Linked DNA regions of Homo sapiens: region 2 is linked to region 1. Evidence: promoter capture Hi-C in human tissues and cell types (Jung and others, 2019). All regions are on one chromosome and are shown on one strand. Each heading gives the region's core, a stretch centred on a gene start or on the middle of the fragment in contact. The rest is flanking DNA. Distances are from core to core; before and after follow the strand shown. Region 1 holds the start of FSBP (fibrinogen silencer binding protein). Region 2 has its middle 82 kb from the start of PDP1.

What was found. Contacts are between HindIII fragments. The study calls those that stand out against the background at their distance.
Region 2: a fragment that was not itself captured here is called in contact with the fragment with the promoter of FSBP in region 1 in 1 of the 25 tissues and cell types used here (mesenchymal stem cells).

Annotation. Positions count from the first base shown.
Region 1 is chr8:94,435,371-94,438,595 of GRCh38, reverse strand. FSBP (fibrinogen silencer binding protein) reads left to right here and starts at 1,652. Exons shown (of 2, transcript NM_001256141.2): 1 at 1,652-2,101. The coding sequence starts at 1,728. All of the region lies in intron 3 of RAD54B (RAD54 homolog B), which reads left to right. The HindIII fragment of the contact is 647 bases long and covers 1,301-1,947 here.
Region 2 is chr8:93,997,448-94,000,431 of GRCh38, reverse strand. No RefSeq gene overlaps it. Among named protein-coding and RNA genes, the nearest start is that of PDP1, 82 kb to the right of the region's middle. The HindIII fragment of the contact is 7,356 bases long and covers 1-2,984 here.

The sequences.
Region 1 (3,225 bases), core at 403-2,902:
AACAAAATAATTATCTAAATAAAGTATATACCCTATGTTCTTTCTTTGGTTCTCTTTTAATGTTCCAAAAGCTCAGAAAATGCTAGAATGATTTTGAGTACCTGTGGTCCAGTTGTTGTTGGGGCAGGTCGATTTTCTTTTTGCATCTCTATGGACAAGAATCATTTGCATTACTGATTTCTACAATTTACAGAGCTGTGAAACTGCTCAAAGACAATGAAAGGGTAGAACTATTATGGAATCAAATTACTCAGTAGCGTATACCAGACAACATCTAGCATTCCGTAGAACATCCAGCAATCTTTCACTGTTTTCTGAAAGATAATACACTTAAAGCTTTTAACACATTGGCTCACAGTGAGAGCTCAGTAAATGTAATTTGCTTCTCCATTGTTAAAAGAATGAAAAACAAGATAATTGAGAATTTATAGCATTTCTGTGGAACTACAGTTCCCTGGATAGGTGCTGTATCTAGATTCATTTTTGATTTCATTGGGTCTTGCACAGTGCCTGGGAGCATTTATATACGTGGTCAGTAATTAAAAACAATTTATTTTTCCTACCTCTTAATAACTATCACAGTTGTTCAGTAATAGTTTTATTGGATAGAACTATGTTCAAGTATGTTCTAATTTATTCCCCTATCTGGAAAAATATGTATATTGTGAGAAAATAGGTTTGTCTTGCTTACATTATTATGTATCATATATTTTCATACTGGGGTTAACAAATATATTCTAAGCACCGAAACTGGTGGCCTTGAAAATGGCTAGACTAGCTGTTTCCTTTCATAGTCCAAACTGTGTGAATATAGCTAAATAAAAAATCTGGCTCTATTATAATAGCAAATGTGATTTTGTATGTGGAGTCTTAAGGCGTGATTATACTGTTTCTCACCATGAACAGTGATTTTTTACACATGATAAGGCAGGCTAGCAAATTCACATACATTACGGCTAGAATAATCCATTGCTTTAAAAACATGATTTTTACCTGCTTTTTAGATTGAGTGTTCTATAAAAATTTTTTCTTAAGTGAAAAAAATATGCAGAGGCTAATGTAGACTGTAAAATGAAGGAGAAGCTTAGCTTTACTGTGGAGTCTGGGTCTGGGTGTAACCTAACTAGCTAGAGGATATGCAATTCCTGATTGACAGCAGATCCAGCATTATGCAGATTTTGTAAGGGAGAACACTCAGCTCAGAAACAGTGATGAGAGGCTCTGTTAGGAATTACTACATTCACTACTCATATCTTTTAGTTTTCTGTCTACTGGATTTGTAAATAAATAGCACAAAACAGTTCCTCTTTTGTTTTTATTAAAGTGATACTGCAATGCAGTTCAGTCTGTCAGCTAGGCATACATGTGTGAAATTTGATATTCTCACTAAATTAGCTAATTTTTAGCTGTGTTCCATGCTTATCTCTAGACCTTTGTGTATTAAATCCTGTCTCGAGCTGTTCCCTTTATACACAAGTGTGTTTTGCTTGTGCCTTCCTGTCTTCTTCAGTGAGAAGCTTTATGTAGGTCAGGCTTGGCTTAAGCAGATTTCCTGAACCTGCGTCAGCTTAAGCTGGAGGAATTTTAATAAACCCTCCCCTGTAGGCGTGGGCCTAAATGAGGCTAGCCTAGTTAAGCCTGATCTTTTTCTGTTTGTGAAAAGAGCTGAGCAGAGCTGAAGGCTGCATGGTGGTTTCAGAAACTGCCTACTTAATTTGAAAAGAACAATGGTAGGAAAGGCTAGATCTTCCAATTTTACCTTATCCGAAAAGCTTGATTTGCTAAAGCTTGTGAAGCCATATGTGAAAATTCTCGAAGAACACACTAATAAACATTCAGTAATAGTAGAAAAGAATAGATGTTGGGATATCATAGCAGTTAACTATAATGCAATTGGAGTAGACCGCCCTCCTCGAACAGCACAGGGCCTACGCACCCTTTATAAAAGGCTCAAAGAATATGCCAAACAGGAGCTATTGCAGCAAAAAGAGACCCAATCAGATTTTAAAAGCAATATTTCTGAGCCAACCAAGAAAGTTATGGAGATGATTCCCCAGATTTCCAGTTTTTGCCTGGTAAGAGACAGGAACCACATACAAAGGTAAGCTTTATTTTGTTTTGTTATGGAAAATTATGGCGCCTCCTATCTATTGGGCTTTGGCTTAGTCGTGATAGAGATATGCATAGTAAGCATCCCCACAACGGGAGCAATGAATAGTGTCTTTGTTTTGCATTTTTTAAAAAGAGAAAAGTGAGGCTATGAGGAATTTTTCTGTTGCATTTAAGCTACTTTTTACTGTCTTCCCCTCCCCCTTCCCTCCTGTAGTTTCTAAAAGTAAAGGTTAGGGAGGAATAAGTGGGTTGAAATTTGTGACATCACTTCATAAACTTCTTAAGCTTTAAAATTAAATTATTTAGTTTGCTTCTGAGAGATACTTTTTTTCTCATTTAAGATTACATTTCACTGGAATTTTCAATTTTATATAAAATTTATATAAAGTTAGCAGTTTCTAGAGAAATGGAACCTTGCTTTTTTATGAATTGTCATTGTCTACACTTATTGAATATATGTTAACTAACAAATATAAACAAAATCAATAAGTAAACTTGTTAATGGCATGATTGTGTATATGAAGACAGTTTAAATTATTTTTCTAACACGTTTAAAATAAAGATGAACACAACTAAAGGGAGTTAATGCCTAATTAGGGATTCAGTTTACTTAATAAAATTAAAAGTTTTTTGTTGTTGTTGTTTTTATTCCTTAATAGTCTAGTTTCACTTTGATCTTGGGTCGTATAGGAAAGAGTAAGCTTTCTCTTACTGCTTTGCAAGGATATCAAATTATGAATTTTAAAATACCCCTAAGAGCAACTGGGTTTTTTTAGAGTTAGAAGCAATTTTTTGGTTAAACTTGTCTTCTATGTAACTATTTGCCTTGGAATTTTCAAAAGTATTATCTTGCCACTAATTCAGATTGTAACCTCTGGCAAAATATAAAAATGGCAGCTACATTCTTATTCTGAACCATTTAGGGTAATTTAAACAAATTGTAAACTCCTTGTTAGTTTGAGGAGCCTTTCAAACAAAGCTTTACACAATGTGCTTTTCTATTGGTGGAAGAGGCATTATATAAGCAAATTATTGATTACTATGAAATCCCTTTGAAATTAGGAGAGAAGCAGAAAAAAACCACTTTGTAGCCAAGTGCATATGTTATTTTGG
Region 2 (2,984 bases), core at 153-2,652, 440 kb after region 1:
TGCTATAAGCTGTGAGTAAATCAAAACTACCATTTCTCCCAACCTAGTCTGTGTTAGTAGTTCTTCCTTGGCATAATAGCTCAGTGCAAACACCCTTCAGTTAATTTGTTGAGTGCCAGAGGGTAGAGGGTTAGCCCCATGCATCTCTTCCACCTGGGCTACCAGCGATTGAACTGGAAAAACCAAACTGAGACAGTGAAGGATAATTCACCCTTCTTCTTCCCTTTGCACCCCACCTCCCTTCCTTCCTTTTCCTTTATTTTCCTTTCTTTATCTCCTACACGTAGTGGACATGACTTTTCAGTGTATCAGGCAATTTCAGTTAAAATAACCCTGTAGTGATTTACAACATAGAGTAATGGGATGAGAATGAAAAGTTCTGTTTTGGATGCTTCTGGAAATCTTAAATCTCTGAGTCTTGTTTGTACATATCTCTAAAATGATGCAGAAATAAAAACCTATCACATTGCTTATCTCAGAAGAAATATAGTATTATAGCCCTACACTTCACAAATGTATGTGTCTTATCATGACCACACCCCAACTTAAGCTGGAAGGAGAAGGCATTTTTTCATTCATTTATGTATTTTTCTGTAAATGCTTTGTCAAAAAATTAAAAGACAATCCTTGAGGACTAATTGGGATGATGTGGAAGGATTATCCAACTCTTCCTGCTTGAATTCTTGGTGAATGAGGACATCAGGTCAAGTAGCATTTCCTCCAGAGTTGTACAAAAGTGTAACACATATATGCAGCAGGTTCCTAAAGAAAAGGAGTGTGCAACAAATCTACTTCCACGCACATTTCCTCACACTTGGGATTTCTACGACCCTCTCCCATTGGATACCCTCTCATTCTGTGTCCAGAGTTGGTTCCTTCCAGTGCATTCGTGGTCTCGCTGACTTCAAGAATGGAGCCGCAGACCTTTGCAGTGAGTGTTACAGCTCTTAAAGAAGATGGCAGGGACCCAAAGAGTGAGCAGCAGCAAGATTTATTGTGAAGAGCAAAAGAACAAAGCTTCCACAGCGCAGAAGGGGACCCAACCGGGTTGCCACTGTTGGCTGGGGTGGCCAGCTATTATTCCCTTATTTGTCCCCGCCCATGTCCTGCTGATTGGTCCATTTTACAGAGTGCTGACTGGTCCATTTTACAGAGTGCTGATTGGTCCATTTTACAAACCTCTAGCTAGCTACTGAGCGCCGATTGGTGTGTTTTTACAGAGCACTGATTGGCGCATTTTACAAACCTCTAGTAGCTACAGAGCGCTGATTGGTGCACTTTTACAGAGCACTGATTGGTGCATTTTACAAACCTCTTGTAAGACGGAAAAGTTCTCCAAGTCCCCACTCTACCCAGGAAGTCCAGCTGGCTTCACTTCTCAATTCCTCATATTGCCGATGGCTCTCATTGACTTCGGCAAATATATTTCTATAAGCAGCAGTTAGAAAGGAGCAGATTATAAACTTCACGGTTCTAGGTGTGTGGATAACCAGAATGAATTATACAAGGAGGAAAACTGTACCATCTATTTCCGTGTCAAGATCCTTATATGCACATGGTTGGAAAGGGTTCCCAGGCTGCCATCTTAGATCTGGAATAGAGCTTCTGCTCTGTTCCCCAAGGGCCTGCAGAAGCAGGTCGTGTTGATGTCATGCAAAGATGACTCAGTCTCTGGCCAGAGGTCATCTTGATGTCTCTTGGGTGAATCTTCAATAAGGAAAGATTTGACCTGAAATTCACAGTAGAGGCAAACAGAAGATTTTCATTTCATCTTTACACTTAGGGGCACTCGGCTGTACTGTTTTCTCATCTCTACCCACTCATGTATGTCACATGCTCTCTCCCTCTCTCCCTAGTTCTTTGTTTCCTCACCATTTACTTGAAGTGCTAAAATCCTTTCAAAAATTACTGTTAAATAAAAATAATGAGAAAATGGAAAATCACTACCATACTCTATCTAGGGAGTGACTAGCAATTCTGACAATATCAGATAAATATACGTAGGTTTTATCATCATTGTATATCATACCAGTAAACCACAGCTGGCTAACGTCACACCTACTTTCAAAATGTAAACCTTATAGTAATAAGTGTTCCACGATGACATGGAAATATTTTCATTTCCTAAATTTCCTATACAGATGATGCTCATACAGTTGATATTTCCGTTGTCCCAGATAATAAATTACTCCACCAGGTTACATCCTTCATGTACACAAACTTCCAGGCTGTTTGTCTCAATACTCCCTGCAGCTGTTACTTAGGTTTTTGCTACATAATTACTGTTTATTCAAAATCTCTCACTTATGAGGGGATTTGCCCACAGAGCTCTCACATTCAGCTTTCAAAACGTGATGACGCTTATGTTTGGTTCTTTTTGCTAAATATTGAAGGCAGTTTTAGTCCTGACCAAAATATTTGCACGATGCTAATTACATTTCTGTGGACCATCAAATTGAAGTCTGTGGAAGAATAAATGAAAAATGTGCATCAAACTTCATCATTGCAATTTCCAATTGTTTAGAACAAAGGATCTTGAAATTGGAGGAGGTACAAATATGAGCACCCCCCTGCTTAGCAGCAGTAATAATAAAACCAGCTGACAAATGTTGAGTGCTCACCATGACCCAGGCCTGCTCTGAGTGCATCCACATTTAATCTCCAAACAGCCATATGGCATAGGTAGTAGCATCAATCCGTTTTTAAGATGAGAAAATCGAGGCACAGAGAAGTTAAGTCATTTGCCTAAGGCCCCTCAGCTAATGGGTAATCAGCCCAAATTCAAACCTAGGCATTGCATCTCCAGAGCTCATGCTCTTATGAAAGCGATTTCTCCATCTTGGTATATTTTTAGAAGTTCAACATCCTAGGTACTAGACAAAGGAAAGAAAAAGGAAGACAGAAGCCTCTATTCCTGCCCTGTTCCTAGGTCCCCTTTCATTCACCGACCCCCACCCCCCATTCTTTACTATCCCCTACACAAA